Linked DNA regions of Homo sapiens: regions 1, 2 and 4 are each linked to region 3. Evidence: promoter capture Hi-C in human tissues and cell types (Jung and others, 2019). All regions are on one chromosome and are shown on one strand. The core of a region is centred on a gene start or on the middle of the fragment in contact, and the rest is flanking DNA. Distances in the headings are between cores, read along the strand shown.

Region 1 (4,788 bases), core at 1,231-3,730, 890 kb after region 3:
GCTAGTACTGTAATTTGCCTCTCTGGACTCCCTTTGAGCTCTGACCTCTGGGTGAGCAGCTGAAGCACAGAGAAAGGAAGATTAAGGAGACACGCCCAGAACACGTCAGGGTTACTGGATGCAGCTGTGCAGGCTGTGCACGGCACAACTCCAGAAGCACCATTCATAGAGATCACAATGTGAATGCTGCCCCCTTGAGTCTAGAAGGGCACAAGAATCACAGATTAATGTGGTGGCCTGGAGATAGGGACAGGTCACACAGGTAGCCCTGGAAAGAAGGTCTCAGCTGGACGCAGTGGTTCAAGCCTGTAATCCCTGCACTTTGGGAGGCCGAAGCGGGTGGATCACCTGAGGTCAGGAGTTCAAGACCAGCCTAGCCAACATGATGAAACTCCGTCTCTACTAAAAATACAAAAAAATTATTTGGGAGGCCAAGGCGGGCGGATCACAAGGTCAGGAGATCAAGACTATCCTGGCTAACACGGTGAAACCCCGTCTCTACTAAAAATACAAAAAAAGTAGCCGGGCGTGGTGGCGGGCGCTTGTAGTCCCAGCTACTCGGCAGGCTGAGGCAGGAGAATGGCGTGAACCCGGGAGGCGGAGCTTGCAGTGAGCCGAGATTGCGCCACTGCACTCCAGCCTGGGCAACGGAGCAAGACTCCGTCTCAAAAAAAAAAAAAAAAAAATTAGCTGGCCGTGATGGCACCCACCTGTAATCCCAGCTACTTAGGAGGCTAAGGCAGGAGAATCGCTTGAAACCAGAAGGCGGAGGTTGCGGTGAGCCGAGATCACACCACTGCACTCCAGCCTGGGCAACAAGAGTGAAACTCTGTCTCAAAAAAAAAAAAAAAAAAGAAAGAAAAAGAAAAGTCTCTATTGCCAGTTGTCTATTCTCAATAGCTTGCTTTTTTCACTTAATATATCAGCAGCCACTTCCCCATGTCAACACATAAAGATCTAGTTGAGTAATTCTCCCAAAGCTGGTCACTAGACCAGCAACATCACATCACCTGGGAATTTTTATAGACAGGGTCTCACTCTGTTGCCTAGGCTGGAGTGCAGTGATGGGATCACGGCTCACTGCAGCCTGGAACTCCTGGGCTCAAGTTATCCTCCTGCCTCAGCCTCCCGAGTAGCTGGGACTACAAGCGTGCACCACCACACCCAGCTTTTTTTTTTTTTTTTTTTTTTGTAGAGATAGAGTCTCCCTATATTGCCCAGGCTGGTCTCAAACTCCTGAGTTCAGGCGATCCTCCCATCTCAGCTTCCCAAAGCTCTGAGATTACAGGTGTGAGCCACTGCCCTGGCCCATATTTTTTTTTTTCCATTAGACTGTTTTTCTGTTCCATTAGACTGTAAGCTTGAAAGACAGGAACCACGTCTGCCTTTCTGTCTGACCACTGGACCCAGCATACCATACAGTAGATGCCTAATACATGCTTTGTCAGACTGGGGAAAAATATATATTAGATATTAATATTAGATATTAATATATTTTAAAATTGTATAAAGATTGCATATATATATATAATTTATTTGAAATTTCAGCTTTAAATAATTGTTTTTGACCAGGCACAGTGGCTTACGCCCATAATCCCAACACTTTGAGAGGCTGAGGCGGGAGGATCCCTGGAGCCCAAGAGTTCAAGGTTGCAGTGAGCTATGATTGTGCCACTGTGCTCCAGCCTGGGCGACAGAATGAGACCCTATCTCAAAAAATAATAATATAATAATAACTGTATTTATGAATAACTTTTATTTAAATTAAATTTATCAAAATCTTTCTTGGACAGGCACTGTGGCTCATGCCCGTAATCCCAGCAATTTGGGAGGCTGAGGCGGGGGAATCACTTGAGGTCAGGGGTTCGAGACCAGCCTGGCCAACTGGCGAAACCCCGTCTCTACTAAAAATACAAAAATTAGCTGGGGGTGGTGGCGGGCGCCTGTAATCCCAGCTACTCAGGAGGCTGAGGCAAGAGAATTTGAGCCCAGGAGGTGGAGGCTGCAGTGAGCCGAGATCGCGCCAATACACTCCAGTCTGGGCGACAGGTACTGTGTCTCCAAAAACAAAAAATTCTTAAAGTGACTTTATGCAAAATTACATACATTAACGATATAATAGATATCGTGCCTTTTTTAAGAGAAATTTGAATGTTTTCAAAGAAAAAACTTTTTGGAAAATGATATGAAAAATAATTTTAATATGTGCTTTAGCCTCGGGCTACCAGAAGAGCCCCAGATAGGGTCGAGGGAGGCCTCAGTCCCACACCGTCCCCTTCTGCCCCGCCCAGATGGATTTCCAGGCTCAGGGAAGTCCCCTCTCGGGTCCAACCATATCCTGCGAAGAGACACAGCACCTGTCCCGCCTCCGCCTGTCCGCGAGGTGACGCCAGGCGGACCGGAGCGATCCTCTGGAGTCCTTCATCTCTATGATCTCCGCAGCTGCCTAAATGACCCGGAAGCTGTGTCTGACTGAGGGGTCAGTGGTTCCGGGTAGGAGCTAGGTGACCCTCGGCTGCTGCAGGGATCTGCAGCGACTGCAGCCATGGGGGCCCACCTGGTCCGGCGCTACCTGGGCGATGCCTCGGTGGAGCCCGACCCCCTGCAGATGCCAACCTTCCCGCCAGACTACGGCTTCCCCGAACGCAAGGAGCGCGGTGAGGCCCAGTGCGCAGGCGCAGCCAGAGGGCGTGGGGCGCGGGTGCCTGAACACCTGGCACCCCAGGGCTGGCACCCCAGGGCTGGGCTCTAACCTCAGGTGTTGTATCTGGGTTTGGGTCTAGACTAGGAGTCCACAGGACGTGCATGACCCCACCTCAGTGTGGAGGCGTTCCAGCCCAAGGGCACGGCTTGAGCAAAAGCCAGGGAGCAAAAGTGAGGCGACAAGTGGGGGTTCGGGCAGGAATGCGACGCGCAGAGCTGGGTCGAGTCTTTTTTTTTTTTCTTTTGAGACGGAGTCTCGCTTTTTCTTTCAGGCTGGAGTGCAGTGGCTTGGTCTCGATTCACTGGCAGCCTCCACCTCCCGGGTTCAAGCGATTCTCCTGCCTCAGCCTCGCGAGTAGCTGTGATTACAGATGTGTACCACCATGCCCAGCTACTTTTTTGTATTGTTAGTAGAGACGGGGTTTCTCCTTGTTGGCCAGGCTGCTCTTGAACTCCTGACCTCAAGTGATCCGCCCGCCTCGGCCTCCCCAAGTGCTGGGATCGCAGAAGTCAGTCACCACGCCCGGCCTCGGGCCAAGTCTTGGGGGACGTGGGGAGTCATGGGAGGGCAGGGACACGTTCATTGTACCCCCTTCCTGATGTCACTGCAATTGTGGGGTATGCACAAGGAAATAAGGAAGATTCGAGCTGCAAATACTGTCCTGCAAAGTGCTTTGTTTTGCTTTGAGACGGGATCTTGCTCTGTTGCCCAGGCTGAGTGTAGTGGCACAATCACAGCTCATTGCATCCTCGACCTCCTGGGCTCAAATGATCCTCCCGCCTCAGCCTCCCGAGTAGCTGGGACTACAGGAGCGCCCCAGGATGCCAGACTGATTTTTTATTTTTTGTAGAGTTGGGGGTCTTGCTGTGTTGCCCAGGCTGGTCTCAAACTCCTGGGCTCAAACGATCCTTCTGCCCAGCCTCCCAAAGTGCTGGGATTGAAGATGTGAGCCACTACGCCCAGGATGGTTTTTTGGTTCGTGTGTTTGTTTTTGCTTTTAATGTAGTAATATCACAGGCATACCGAGCACCAGCTCTGGGCCACGTCCCACATTAGGCACCGCGGATACAGCAGGGAACTGGAGGGATGCAGGCACTGTCTCCAGAGAACTCAGCACAGTGGGAAAGATTGTGGAATCAGGCAGAGCTGGGGGTGTCAAAGCAGGCTTCCAAGAGGCAGTGGCTGGAAACAAAGACGTGAAGGGTGGCCGGTCGTGGTGGCTCATGCCTGTAATCCCAGCACTTTGGGAGGCTAAGGCGGGCAGATCACCTGGGGTCAGGAGTTTGAGACCAGCCTGGCCAACATGGTGAAACACCATCTCTACTAAAAATATAAAAATTGAGGCCGGGCATGGTGTCTCACACCCATAATCCCAGCACTTTGGGAGGCCGAGGCGGGCAGATCACGAGGTCAGGGGATTGAGACCATCCTGGCCAATGTGGTGAAACCCTGTCTCTACTAAAAATACAAAAATTAGCCAGGGGCGTGGTGGTGCACACCTGTAGTCCCAGCTACTCAGGAGGCTGAGGCAGGAGAATCGCTTGAACCCAGGAGGCAGAGGTTATAGTGAGCCGAGATCACACCACTGCACTCCAGCCTGGGCGACAGAGCAAGACTCCATCTCAAAAACAAAATACAAAAATTAAGCCGGGCACGGTGGCTTATGCCTGTAATCCCAGCACTTTGGGAGGCCAAGGCCGGTGGATCACCTGAGGTCAGGAGTTTGAGACCAGCCTGGCCAACATGGTGAAACCCCGTCTCTACTCTACTAAAAATACAAAAATTAGCCAGGTGTGGTGGCGCATGCCTGTAATCCCAGCTGTCTGGGAGGCTGAGGCAGGAGAATTGGCTGGAACCCAGGAGGCAGAGGTTGCAGTGAACCAAGGTCAGGCCACCACACTCCAGCCTGGGTGACAGAGCGAGACTGTCTGAAAAAACAAAACAAAACAAAACAAAGATGTGAAGGGGCATGAGTAGGGGTTGACCAAAGAGAGGTGGCAGAGCCAAGCTTCTAAGCAGAGGAGGGACACAATCAGTTTTGGTTGGTCAAAAGGTCACACTGTCTACTGAGTGGGCGACAAGCT
Region 2 (4,345 bases), core at 1,413-3,912, 660 kb before region 3:
GCCTGTCCCTGCTGATGGCACATTCCCAGGGGCTGCCTGTGCTTGGCACGTGGCACTGCCCAGGAAATGTCCCTCAGAGGACTGACTGGCAGCCCTGAGCCCGAGGCTGGTCCGTCTGGCAGGACCTCCTCGGAGGACGCCAGCTCCCCCTTTAGCCTGAAGGGGCCGATCCTGCAGGCCCCATGTCTCCCAGCAGGGCCCGGGACTCACATTTTCCACATTGATGTTGGCCTTCGCGCTGGTCTCCATGAACTTGATTCCATAGTCGAGGGCCAGCTGTGAGAGAGGGAGGCACACGCATGAGCACACCAGCCGCCGGGCGCATCTGAGCTTGCCTAAAACAGGAGCTGAAGGCAGGGCCGGCGCCAAGAGGGAGCAGCAACAGGGCTGGGGCTGTGGGCGTGACTTCCTGGATCACTCCCTCAATTCTATAGTGAATGCCCCTCCACAGGGCCTCACAGGGCATGGAGTTGCTGGGGATGGCAGCTGAGATGGGAGGGTGGCGGGGACCTGCTGGGATCAAACTATGGCTCTGTTCCCCGCTCCTGTGGTCTTGAAAGTCTGGAGCGGGGCCATGGTAGGTTTTGATGAGATGCCCGCAGAGTGCACCCAAGAAGCCCCGGCTGGGTGTGTGCTTCTGTCATCCCATGGCACGTGCCCCACTGGGGTGACCAACTCGTCTCAGGCCCCTGGGGCAGAGGAGGGACAGGGGAAGGCCTCTGCACAAGAACCCCAAGACCCCGAGGCCCTCTGCCCCTTGTGCCACCATGCCCACCTTTTCTCCCCGTTCCTTGGAAACTTGTCTCTTGTCATTCACATCACACTTGTTCCCGAGTATCATCTTTTCGACGTCTGCAGAGGCGTGCTGAGAGGGAGGGGGACAGACGGGGGATCAGACCGGATGACACAGGCCAGGTGCCTCTGCCAACACACAGTCTGTCCCCAGAAATCAGAGCGGTGGGGTCAGGACTGCTAGGTACAGCCTGGTCTAAGGGACAAGCTGAAGCTCAGAGAGGCCAAGCAGCCGGCCCCATGTCACACAGCCAATGCCAGGGCTGGGGCCAGGGTTCTAGCTGCTACTCTGAGCAAATGCACATTTTCTGAAATGCTTTCTGGCAGCTTCTATGGCTGTATCAATCAAGCCCCCGCACCTGGGATGCTGGGCGGGTCTAGCCTATGGGAGGTGAGTGAGGCTGAGATATTTACCCCCCGACCTTGGCTTTCCTCCTTCCCTCCCTGGCTCCTCTGCAAGAGGCCCCAGCTGTTGTCCTGGGACCTTCTGCTTTGACACTTTTTTTTTTGTTTTTTTTTGAGATGGAGTCTCGTTCTGTCTCCCAGGCTGGAGTGTAGTGGCATGATCTCGGCTCACTGCAACCTCTGCCTTCAGGTTCAAGCGATCCTCAACCTCCCGAATAGCTGAGATTACAGGCATCTGCCACCATACCAGGCTAATTTTTTGTATTTTTAGTAGAGACAGAGTTTCGCCATGTTGGCTAGGCTGGTCTCAAACTTCTGACCTCAGGTGATCTGCCCGCCTCAGCCTCCCAAACTGCTGGGATTACAGGCATAAGCCACCTCGCCTGGCCCTGACATTTCAACTATTTTTGGGCTCCAGAAACAGGCCGTGCCTGAGGTGGTCGCAACTCGAGGCCGTCACCAGCTGCAGGCACTTCACCACCCTGTCTGATGTTGCCCAAACTCTGCCCTCATACCCAAAGGCAGCTCCTTCGTCAAGTCTCCCTGGGTCCCCATGGAGCGGACCACGCTTCCTGGAGGACGGGGACACTGGAAACTGCTGTCTTCTTCCACCAGCTCAGACTTGGTCTCTGGAACCTACTGCGCCACTCCCTGCCTCACTTCCCATGAACCAGAAGGTGGCTCCTGCCCGCTGGCCAGAAACAGAGACCTTTCACAAAGACCAGGCTCTCCTCCTCTCCACGGATGAAGACAGCTTTCCCAGCTGGGGTGCAGCCCTGCACTGGCAAATTTGGCAGCACAGCCCTCTCAGGGTCACTGGGGAGGTGAGCCCAGTGCAATGACTCACAAATGATGGGGTGGCCTCTCGGCCTGGCCTGGGAGGTCCATGAGTCCTGGGTGGACAGTGATATGCCCTTTTGCTGTGGTTTTATAGATGGGAAAAGTTCTCTGGCTGTGCCTCAGACCTGAAGCCCCACATGGTTAGTTATAGAAAGCTGCAGGTGCCGGCAGCCAGGAAGGCTTTGGGGGTGAGGTCAGCTCTTTGGGGAGCAGAAGATGAAGATGCTGGCTTTGGGAGGGGAGGAGGGGTTGGCCTACTTCTCACTGCTCTATGGTTCAAGGTCTGAACACAGGTCGTTTGTACCAGGTCACACCCTGCTCCGATATAGCTCAAAGTACAACTGACGCCTGCTCACCACACCCTCCAACTACAAGGGTCACACCTGTGCTAGACCCTTCCTTCTCTAGAAAGCACCCAACACTCATGGTGACCACAAGCTTGGATATCCTTTCTCTTATAACCATGACACTGGCCAGATCCAACAGCCTAGCTGGAGGGATGGGCTCCGAGGGGCTCCGGGGTGGGGCCAGGCCAGTGTGTGGTCCCTGGGGCCGGCTGCTTGCATCTCAGTCCCTGCTCCCACCATGTCCCTGACTAGGAGGCTGTGGGCAAGTGGCCTGTATGTGTCTCTGCACCTTGGCCTTCTCATGAGTAAACCAGAGGGCTCTGGGACAAGGACTGAAGCAGGGACAGTGGGAGGAGCCGGAGGGCCTCACCTCCTCAATGTTGCGAATCCAGTTCCGGATGTTGTCGAAGGACTTCTCGTTGGTGATGTCGTAGACCAGCATGATGCCCTGCGCGGGGAGAGAAGACACAGGTGCCTGATCGGCTGCAGGCTCTGGAAGGGAGGCCTCAGCGGCACCAGAGAACAGTGGTGGGGAGCCCAGCACCCACTGCACAGCCAGGCCCATTAGCTGCCGCCCTCCCCACCTCTGTGGAGCCCCGGAAGCCAGCCCCCTCCTCTCCATCCCTGTGGCCCTTCTTTCTGCTGGGTTCTGGCACCAGCCTTGTCCTGCCCCCCGGGCCGCTGAGGTGACCCTTCTGCCTCACAGGCCAGCCCCTGCCACGCACTCGCTGACAAGCCCGGCTGGCTCCCCTCATGGCCCACGGGGTGGTGCAGCCTGACGGTGGGAGCCGGTCCACAGGCCCACTGCCAGCAGCACTCCCCTCACGCTGACCCTCCCCTGCAATCGGCCTCCTCTTCACCCCTTGCTCACCCCACGCTCTGCCTGAGCCACCTACCAGGCACAACTGAGCCCAGGAAGTCCTGACCCGACATCCACACAACTTCCAGTGACCCCACCACAGAGGGAACCGGCTGTGTGAAGATGGAGCCGAGAGTGCCAAGGCCCTTCCAGTTCCCTAACCTAGACGTGAGCAACTGGGAGACGGCTCGTGGGTCCTGGAAGAGCTTCGGGGCAGCCCCGCCTCAGCCTGGGTCCACAGCCTCGCTACTGCTGTGGACAAGCGCAAACATGCCCATGCGATGCAAGGGGAAACTGAGGCACAGAGACGTGACCTTTAAGATTCAAGCACGGGGGGCGGGGGGGGGCTAACTCCAAAAGCACTGATGACACCTATCCTCTCAGCAATATCCCTGGGCCTTTTTCAGCCCCAGAACCCACATGTGGGGGCCACCCTCTGACGGTCTGTGTGGTTCTCGATGTCCTTGTGGAGTGCCCACAGCGGGCCAGCCTGCAGTGCCATCACAAGTCCCCCTTTGTTGCCGGGCATCCTGGGCTCCAAGGCACGTGGCCTGCTCATGGCCAGGCCTGGATTTCTTCCTTCCTCCTCGCTACCTGCTCCCCAGGCCCAGCCCTGCATCTGTGGCACCTGAGGGCACTGATGACTTCTGCTGCTGGCCAAGTTGTCTGGGGCCATCCAAGTTTGCAGAATAAGGACACGGGCCATGTGGTAATGGTGAGACAGATGTGGGTGCAAGAGTGTGGGACAAAAACGACACAGATGGGGCAAGAAAGTCACTGCAACCCCAAATCCTCCTGGGAATTCAGGGACATGAATAATGGCCTCACAGTCAGCCGCAACCATGGCGAAGAACCTCAAGGCTGCAGTGGCCCATGATGTCTGCCATGCCCCATCCACGGTGGGCACACCCTGTGACTGTGACATGGTCAGGGACAGGGGGCGTGGGGCCCTTTATCCGGGGACTGGACCCTCTGAAAGCCCAGGATTCCTGCCTTCACCACTAAGTTGGTGACATGTGCCTAAGACTCAAATTCCTGGATTATACCTATTTCAGGGAGCTGAGGGGAGAACCTGGACGTTAGTGGGGCAGTGGGTAGAGCT
Region 3 (4,631 bases), core at 2,082-4,581:
GGAAGGAAGGAAGGAAGGAAGGAAGGAAGGAAGGAAAAAAAAAAAAAGAAAAAGAAAAAATAGAGAGGTGAACAACCCAGGTACCGATGCAGGGAACTGGAGGCAGCCAGGGAATAATGTGTTTTCAAGCAAGTTTCCACTGTAGGCAAGAGAGCTCAGTCTCACTTCGAAGCCCTGAGGGAGAGCATAGGACACATACCTGAGTCATCCCACACAAGGGTTGAGGGAGCTGGGGTATTTATACACTAATTCCCACCAGTTATTATGTGAGGGCTGCTCTCAGGGACATGTTAATTCACTGGCACTTTTGGAATGCTTGTTACACAGACATAGTGGACTCCATCTGCTAGATACAAATGGCTGCAAATGTCACCTCCTCAGGGAAGTCCTCCCTGATTTTTCCAGCTCAAAGAGTGGCATTTTTGCTCAGCATTCACTGCAGCCTATTTCCTTCTAGGTCCTCCTTACCAGCTAGAAATGTCTCATGTATGAGTTTAGGATCTTATCTACCTCCATCATCTGTGAGCTCCAGGAAGGCAGAAACCAAGTTTGGTTAGTTCTCTGCGGCCTCTCCAGCACCTAGCATGTAATAGGCACTCGGGAAACATTTGTTGACTAGACAAAGGCTTACATGAATCTTTTGAAACTGATATTATCGTCTTGTACAAATAAGGAAAACGAGGCTCAGAGAGAGGAAATGACTTGTCTGAGGTCACACAGAGGGAGAGGGGCCAGCTGGTACTCGGCTCCTGGACCGGATTTATGCTGACTCATTTATTCCTCAGAATGGCATTTACTTACCTCTGGCTTTCAAGTAAACATCTGTGGAAGCCTAACAGAGATACAAGAAAGTGCTCCCAAGGGCACAGCTTGATGAATTTTCACAACAGCACACAGCCATGTAACCAGGACCCAGCTCAAGAAATAGAACATGTTAAGCCAAGCGTGGTGGCACACATCTGCAGTCCCAGCCACTACAGAGGCTGAAGCAGGAGGACTGCCTGAGCCCAGGAGTAGGAGACCAGCCTGGGCAACATAGTGAGACCCTGTCTCTTTACAAAAAAAAAAAAATTAAAATTAGCCAGGCATGGTGGCATGCACCTGCAGTCCCAGCTACTCAGGAGGCTGAGGCAGGAGGATTGCCTGAGCCCAGGAATTCAAGGTTGCAGTGACCCACAATCATGCCTGGGAATAGCCACTGTACTCCTGCCTGGGTGACAGAACAAGGCTTCGTCTCTCTGGGCACAGAGGCTGATGCTATTCCTGTATTCCCAGCACTTTGGGAGGCTGAGGCATGAGGATTGCTTGAGCCCAGGAGTTCAAGACAAGCATGGGCAACATAGTGAGGCCCCATCTCTACAAAAAACAAACAAACAAAAAGTTAAAAATTAGTCAGGTAGCATGCACCTGTAGTCCCAGCTACTCGAGAGCCTGAGGTAGGAGGATCGCTTGAGCCCAGGAGGTTGAGAATGCAGTGAGCTGTGATTGTGCCACTGCACTCCAGCTTGGCCAACAGAGCAAGACCCTGTCTCAAAAAAAAATCTTATTAAAAAAAAAAGAACATGCTAAATTTGTGTTATATGAATTTTACCTCAATTAAAAAAAAAATAGGCCAGGCATGGTAGCATGTGCCTATTATCCCAGCTACTTAGGGGGCTGAGGTGGGAGGATCACTTGAGGCCAGGAGTTCAAGAACAGCCTGGGCAACAAAGCAAGACCCTCATCTCAACAACAACAAAAAAATTGTTTTTAATAAGCCAGGTGTGGTGGCATGCAGCTGTAGTCCCAGCTACTCAGGAGGCTAAGGCGAGAGGATCTCTTGAGCCCAGGAGTTAGAGGTTACAGAGAGCTATGATGGCACCACTGCACTCCAGCCTGGATGACAGACCTCATCTACAAAAAATAATAATATTCATATTATGTATAATGTAATATTATTTATATTACTATGTAATATAAATATTATATTTTTATTTTATGAGATCTATATTATTTTTATAGACCTCATTTATAAATAATAATAATAATAAGGGCCGGGCACGGTGGCTTACGCCTATAATACCAGCACTTTGGGAGGCCAAGGCGGGCAGATCATTTCAGGTCAGGAGTTCAAGACCAGCCTGACCAACATGGTGAAACCCCGTCTCTACTAAAAATACAAAAAAATTAGGCAGGCATGGTGGTGAATACCTGTAGTCCCAGCTACTCAGGAGGCTGAGTAGGGAGAATCACTTGAATCCGGGAGGCAGAGATTGCAGTGAGCCAAGATCGTGCCACTGCACACCAGCCTGGGAGACAGAGCGAAACTCCTTCTCGATAAATAAATCAATTAATAATAATAAGAGTAATAATAAATCTTGCCATCTTCCAGAAGCCCCCCTTGTACCCTCTTCCCAGCCACCAGTGCCTCCAAAAGAAACTGATACCCTGCTTGTTAGACATGGTTTTGCCTGCTTTAGGACTTTATGTAAATGGAATCACAAAGTGTATACTCTTCATTGTTTTGGGGTTTTTAAATTTATTTATTATTGCTTTTTAGAGATGGGGTCTCCCGAGGGCAGGGAGGGGAAAAAGAAAAAAAAAAGTTAGATATGAGGTCTCCCTATGTCACCCAGACTGGAGTGCACTGCCTATTCACAGGCATGATCACAGCTCACTGCAGCCTCGAACTCCTGGCCTCAAGCGATCCTCCTCCCTCAGCCTCCTGAATAGCTCAGATTACTGGCATTTTATGGCTTTGGTTTTGGTTTTGGCTCAACATTGTTTGTGATTCACCCAAGTTAAATCATTCTTTAGTTTGTTCTCACTGCTGTATGATATTCTGCTGTGCGAAGAGATCACAATTTATTCCTTCTCCCACTAATGGGTACTTAGGCTGCTTCCAATGTGGGGCTATTATGCATTGTGCTGGGGGGGCATATCTATTGGACGTCTACCTAGCAATGGAATTGCTGAGTCAGAGAAGATCCAGCTAGTAGTGTTAGTAGATCCTGCCAAACCGTTTCCCAACATGAGTGAATGGGTCTACACTCCGGCCAACTGTGGATTAGAGTTCTAGGTGCTTTGTATTCTCGCCAGCATTTGTTCAGCCTGTACTCATTTTGCAGAGAAGGCAACGGAGGCTCAGAGAGAGGGGCAAGTGCTGCCTCCCCGTCAGGGAGGCAGTCTGGGTCCTTCTTGCTAGAAGCCTGGTAACCCACCTCCTCTCTTCTCCTCCCTCGAACCTCCAGCAACCTGCCCGCACTGTGCCCTCCCAGCCTGGCTGTGGGGTGGGGTGGGACAGAGAGGGTCACGTGGAGTTGGGTTCCGAGGGAGGAAGCCAGGCGGGGTGCAGACGGCTGCTGATTCTGGGGCTGGTCAGGAAACCAAGGTAAGGGAGGGAGTGGAGGTGGGGGCAGGGGGATTCCTGGAGGCAGAGCTGAGGGTGGGGAGGGGGCCGAGATGAGGGCAGTATGTGGACAGACACTGGGCACTACTGTCACTCTCTCGTCCCCCAGGAGACCCCCCCCCCCAACCATGGACCCACCGTCGCCAAGCCGGACCTCCCAAACCCAGCCCACAGCCACCTCTCCGCTGACTTCCTACCGCTGGCACACAGGGGGCGGTGGGGAGAAGGCGGCTGGAGGGTTCCGCTGGGGCCGCTTTGCTGGCTGGGGCAGGGCCCTGAGCCACCAGGAGCCCATGGTCAGCACCCAGCCAGCCCCTCGCTCGATATTCCGTCGGGTCCTATCTGCGCCTCCCAAGGAGTCACGGACCAGTCGCCTTCGACTCTCCAAGGCCCTCTGGGGGAGGCATAAGAACCCACCGCCGGAGCCAGACCCGGAGCCGGAGCAGGAGGCCCCAGGTACATGGTTCCCCCACCCTGAGCTTGGGCCGGGCTGGGAAGCCGGATGCTTGGGTTTTGTCTGCCTCCGGAGCATCAACCATACAGACACAGGAAGTTGTGGGGAGTGCAAAAGCCCAGCAGGAAGCCGCTGGGGCCCAGCTACCCTGTTCCCTCTTTCCCCCTAAAGAGGGTAGGAGGAGTTGCCGGGGTCCTGTGGGCAGAGGGTCCATCTGAGGAAGGAACAGTGAATGTAAACCCGTGATAGTATTGTCCAGAGGCTAAACGGCTCTTGGCCCCAACGGGTCTCTCCTTCAATGGCTCAGGCCCATCCTTTCCTACCTGGATATCCATCTTCAGCCTGCCTCCTACTCTCCTACCTTCTAGCTTCCGTGTCTTTGTTCTGAGCCCTTAAGCCTCAGCCTCTCCATCAGTTCAGTGAGAATAATGATCTCCATTTTGGAGAGTATATAATTTTATTTGCTCATATTCATTCATTTATTCAAGCAGAGGTTTGTTGAGCTTCTATTGTATGTGCCAGGCCCTGATTTAGGCACTGAGGACACACTAGTGAAAGAGACAGATGACCCTCCCTGCCCCATGGAGCTCACAGTGTAGTGGAATTGACAGGAAATCCATCAACAAGAAAATGACAGATGGGCCAGGCATGATGGCTCACACCTGTAATCCCAGCACTTTGGGAGGCCAAGGTGGGTGGATCACCTGAGCTCAGGAGTTCGAGACCAGCCTGGCCAACATGGCAAAACCCTGTTTCTACTAAAAATACAAAAAAAAAAAAGTATCTAGG
Region 4 (4,964 bases), core at 1,695-4,194, 730 kb before region 3:
AAAAGGAGGAAAGTAGGCAGTGCAAGAAACAGGAGGAAACCCCCCAGAGCGCAGCCTCCTGGAAGCGGAAGGGAGCACTGAAGAGGAGGTGGTTAGTGGTGTCAGAAGCTGCTGAGAAGCCAGTTAGATAAAGCGGAGAAGCTTCCTACTAGGACAGCTTCCTCCCAGCCCAGTGTGGCCACGCTGGTGTCCTCGGTGACCAGACACGTGGCCATGAATTTCTCAGTGTGCTTTATTGTTGATTAAATGCAGTCGGCTCACGAGGCTGACTTTGGAAACAGGAGGTCCGTGGGTCGTGGAATAAGAAAGGGCATCATGGTTGCAGAGGAAGGGAAGGAAGCCCACGGCTGCCTTGGGGAGCTTTCTGAAAGGCAGGTCTGATCATGCCTCTCTGGGCTACGGTCTCCTCACGGTGGCTCCTGGTTGGAACTGAAGTGGTCCCCTTGGTCCCTCTCTCCCATCTCAGCATTAGCCAGGACTTCTGGCTTGGCAGCCCCAGCAGGCTGCCCCTTGCAACACCTCTTTTCCACATGATCGTGCCTTCCAAACCTACTTCCAGCGTCGCCCTCTTCAGGGAGCCTTTCATAACCACCTCCCCCTTCCACTGGCTAAAGATGAGGTTGAGCAACTGCAGGACTTGGGACCTTGTTCCTGCCCCTGTGGCTGCCTGGATCCAACTGTGTGGTAATGTCTCTGCTTCTAGGTGACTCCCCTGCTAGACCGAGAGGCCTGGGAGAGCTAACATGGACCATGGGTGGTGCTGAGCCTGTCTCATGCATCTGCTCAGCAAATCTGCACAATAACTCCATAAAAGCCTCTTTTGACCAGTGAGGAAAGTGAGGCTCAGACAGGAGAAGGTGCCTGTCCCAGGTCACACAGCTGAGCAGCAGGGATGGGTTTTGAGCTCACCCCTAACACCACAGCCATGGCGCCAATGGACACCCTATGCCCGGCATAGGGCAGGGTGCATGCTAGGTGCTCATGAAATGTTTGCTGAAGGAATAAGCAAGCCAAGACAGGCAGCCCACTGGCACCTCTGGGGAGGCAGTGGCCAGGGTGGAAGCAAGACTCATTCCACCAGGACTCATTCCACCGCACCACCCAGCCCCTGGCGTGCTCTAAGACGGGTGTCTTCCCTCCTTCCAAGAAGGCGGGGGAGGGAAGCCCAGCACTGGGTCTCACCAGTTGTTGACTTTGGGTGGCTTCCAGAGCAGGCACCCACTCAAGGGACTTCAGGAAAGTGCTGGGGGTGGGGTGGGGCGGGAAGGGGCAGCCATTTCACCTCTTCACTCTCAGCTGCTTTAGGGCTCACCCCTGCCCGCCTCACCTAGGACCTGACACCCATGTTTGTTTCTCTCACTGATCAATGTTGGGCTTCACATTGTTGGACCGGTTCTTGTTGCTTCCACATGCAACAGGCCAGGCAGCCACCTGCCTTGCACCTGGGATGGACTTAGGAGAAGGCAGAGGACCATTTCTAAAAGGTGGGGACAATCCCTTCTTAAAGTTTTCTCAGATCCTCTGGGGAAGATGCCTGGGTTCTAGTTTATGTCCAGCTCCCTGGTGTCTCTGGTCCATTTGTCACCCCTCCTCAGGGAAACCCTCTCTCATCCTCGGGCTGAGGCTGACTGTCTGTATAACACACTCGCCCCTCAACACCACTGCAATTGACATTTATTTGTGTTTTTGGAGATGGGTATCCATCTCCCCTACCAGCCTGTGAACACCGTAAGAACACAGATTGTTGAGCCCTGGCACATGACTCACACCTGTAATCCCAGCACTTTGGGAGGCTAAGACAGGTGGATCACTCGAGGTCAAGAGTTCGAGACCAGCCTGGTCAACATGGTGAAACCCTGCCTCTACTAAAAATACAAAATTTAGCTCGGCGTAGTGGCAGGTGCCTGTAATCCCAGCTACTTGGGAGGCTGAGGCAGGAAAATTGCTTGAACCCGGGAGGCGGAGGTTGCAGTGAGTGGAGATTGCACCACTACACTCCAGACTGGACGACTGAGCATGACACTATCTCAAAAACAAAACAAAAAAAAAGGGACTGTTTTTTGCTAAACACAAATCGACCCCAGGCTTAGTACCCTGCCCGGCATTAGTAGGTGCTCCCCAGATATCAGCTGAATAAACGAATGATTCTGGATCGGACTCCTAGACTTGCTACTTCTCTGTGACCATTGTGACCTTGGTCAGGTTGCTTCACCTCTCCATGCCTCAGTTTCTCCCTCTATAAAACGGCACTCGTGATCACCACTCACCTCACCTAATCCTTGTAACTCACTATCACAATGAACGTGGAGAAATTCCTACTGAGAGAAAGTGCACGATAAACAGAAGCTGTAACGCCCTGAGAAGGCGGGACTGGCTCGAGAGCACCCAGTCCCCGCCACGCCTCGCCACCCCCGGCCAAGGGTCGCGCAGCCCCTGGACGCCCTGCCTGGCTCCGAGGCCGGCTGCGGCCCCGCTTCTGGGTCCTCCACCGAGGCCCGAGCCCCCGGCCCCGGCGCCGGGGAGCAGAGGGCGGTGCAGTCAGTTACCTGGCAACGCGGTGGCTGCAGCCCACCGCGTTACGTAGCAACAGGGCGGGGATTACCCACTTAAGACCCCCGCCCGGTTACCCAGAAACAGGATGGGGCTCTCAGGTGAGGTCTACCGGCCTCTCTGCCTCACACCAGGATGGGGCTCATAAGCCGGTTACCTAGCAACAGGGTGGGTCCCCGCGGGCGGAGGCCCCTGCCGGTTGCCTGGCAACAGGGAGGGTGGGGAGCCCTCAGTACCTTGCCCTTCAGGTCCAGCACGTAGACGGCGCTGGCGGACATGATGGCTGCAGGAGGCCTCGGCAGCGGCCGAGGGCGGTGGCGGCGGCAGCGACGGTGGGGACTGCTGGGCGTTGAGCAAGGCCGGGCGCCGCCCGCGACAGCTCACCTCCACTTCCGGTTCGGGGAGCCGCGCGGGGACCGTTATGTCCGGTCCGGGAGGTGCTGTCAGGAATGCGCAGGCGCAGGACGGACTGTGCGCAGGCGCATTACGTCGTATGTAACCATGTTTCTTGCTCCCGCCAGAAGCATCCCGGAAGTAAGGCCCGGTGGGGCGGGGCCGACCAAATCAGGGCACCCAGTGGCCGCTGCCAGGCTGAGCTATGGAGCCAGAGCAGCTGGAAACGGCCTCCCGTGGGCCGAGTTAGGCGAGAGAGCCTGGTGGTGAAACCGACCTGGGGCCCAGCCCTATGGAGCTCACAGTCTGGTGGGGAAGTCTATGAAACAAGTGTACAGTCACCAATTGTGATAAGCTCAAAAGAGAGAGGTAAGGTCGTGGTTACTTGGAAAGAGGTCAAACAAACTTTCTGAATGGCAATCAAACCTTATCAACAGTCACCACCTGTCATTGTCAACATTTATCAATGAATGAGTGTGCCTGTTTATTGCCTGGAATGTTATGAAAACCAGCCTCACTGAACCTTGACCCAACATACCGTGTTTCATTTCTGCAAAGTTAGTAATCAGTAATGCAACTGGTGGCCCTTGATTAATCCATTGAGTCATATTTAATTTGCTTTTATGAACTCTTGGGCTTTGGAGAAATGCCTGCATTCTGTTCCAGTTAGCCATCATAGTACCCTGGGGATCCCAACCCTGCAATACCAGAGTGATTTACCCAGGATGCCTGCCTCTCACATCTTTTATTTTCTGTCTTATCTCCGTTTTGGCGTTTGGAAAGATGATTTTTGCAACTCGGTAATTATATAGTGTTTTGCTTAGGAAAGAAATGTGACCGAAACTCTAGAGAAGCAAACTAGAATGTTTGAAGACTGCTAAGTGACTCCTGGGCTGGAAGGATTCTTGCTCAAGGCACAGAGCAAGCAGCCAAGAGAGGGTTTTTGTTGTTTGCTTTTTTTTTTTTTTTTTTTTTTGAGATGGAGTCTCACTCTGTCACCCAGGCTGGAGTGCAATGGCATGATCTCGGCTCACTGCAACCTCTGCCTCCTGGGTTCAAGTGATTCTCTTGTGTGTCAGCCTCTCAAGTGGCTGGGATTACAGGCATGTGCCACCACACCTAGCTAATTTTTGTATTTTTAGTAGAGACGTGGTTTCACCATGTTGGCCAGGCTTGTCTCAAACTCCTGACCTCACGTGATCCACCCACCTCGGCCTCCCAAAGTGCTGGGATTACAAGGGTTAAGTTAAATATTAAAAGATAAGAGAGCCAGTGCCCTTATACAAAGGCTGGGATGTAACAAAAGCCCACCCAGAGTTGTGCCTAGGCCTTTCCTGGGCCTTGAAGCATGACAAGATAATGAAGGAATTCTTAACAGGACCCTTTTAGGATTAAACAAGCTTTATTGGCGGTCTGAAGAAACTCCTCAGGCCTCCACAAACAAGTTTATTGGGGTTTGAAGGAACTCCCCCAAACCTCCATGATTTAGCAGGAGATAAGATAAGGGTAATCACCCCAGCACCTGGACCCACTTAGATTAAGTAAATTTACTGAGGCTCCAGAGGAAGGTCTTCAGGACTCAGATCTTAGTTATGGGTTAAAAGACTATAACTTACTTACGTCTTTAGATGAATGCACACCTACACGTAGACATATAGCTTAGAAGGTATATGAGCTCTGGAAGACTTTGTAATTTTGGGTTGGTCTGGTGATATTTTCCAGGCCTTCTCCCTGTAACCAGTTACAGAAATAAAAACTCTCTTCCTCCCTAGTTCATCTGTGTCTCATTATTGGGCTGTGAGATATAGAAGCCCAACCCTCAGTTTGGTCTGGGAATAGGTTAGGAGTGGGGGTCTCAAAAGCCCCCCCAATACAACACACACAATAAGAACCACTGAGGCCTGAAAGCCATGTATAGAGATTTTGTTTTAATTGGTCTGGGCCAGGGTTTGGTTATTGGGATTTTTCTTTTTTTTAATTTTTTTTTTGAGACAGAGTCTCACTCTGTCACCAGGCTGGCA

Evidence for each region. Contacts are between HindIII fragments. The study calls those that stand out against the background at their distance.
Region 1: a contact is called between the fragment with the promoter of NDUFB7 here and the fragment with the promoter of RASAL3 in region 3, in 2 of the 25 tissues and cell types used here (dorsolateral prefrontal cortex and thymus).
Region 2: a fragment that was not itself captured here is called in contact with the fragment with the promoter of RASAL3 in region 3 in 1 of the 25 tissues and cell types used here (aorta).
Region 4: the fragment with the promoter of AP1M1 here is called in contact with the fragment with the promoter of RASAL3 in region 3 in 1 of the 25 tissues and cell types used here (H1 embryonic stem cells).

The regions. Positions count from the first base shown.
Region 1 is chr19:14,569,758-14,574,545 of GRCh38, reverse strand. NDUFB7 (NADH:ubiquinone oxidoreductase subunit B7) reads left to right here and starts at 2,480. Exons shown (of 3, transcript NM_004146.6): 1 at 2,480-2,657. The coding sequence starts at 2,546. RefSeq lists an enhancer at 2,259-2,548. The HindIII fragment of the contact is 12,939 bases long and covers 1-4,788 here.
Region 2 is chr19:16,123,957-16,128,301 of GRCh38, reverse strand. RAB8A (RAB8A, member RAS oncogene family) reads right to left here. Exons shown (of 8, transcript NM_005370.5): 4 at 2,755-2,832; 5 at 776-865; 6 at 211-276. It overlaps HSH2D-AS1 (HSH2D and RAB8A antisense RNA 1), which reads left to right. Exons shown (of 2, transcript NR_199156.1): 2 at 1,315-4,345. Among named protein-coding and RNA genes, the nearest start is that of HSH2D-AS1, 14 kb to the left of the region's middle. The HindIII fragment of the contact is 7,709 bases long and covers 1-4,345 here.
Region 3 is chr19:15,463,244-15,467,874 of GRCh38, reverse strand. RASAL3 (RAS protein activator like 3) reads left to right here and starts at 3,331. Exons shown (of 18, transcript NM_022904.3): 1 at 3,331-3,370; 2 at 3,498-3,844. The coding sequence starts at 3,517. RefSeq lists enhancers at 2,988-3,097, 3,738-3,867, 3,968-4,107. The HindIII fragment of the contact is 13,394 bases long and covers 1-4,631 here.
Region 4 is chr19:16,195,891-16,200,854 of GRCh38, reverse strand. AP1M1 (adaptor related protein complex 1 subunit mu 1) reads right to left here and starts at 2,944. Exons shown (of 12, transcript NM_032493.4): 1 at 2,787-2,944. The coding sequence starts at 2,828. RefSeq lists a silencer at 2,561-2,800. The HindIII fragment of the contact is 7,648 bases long and covers 1-4,964 here.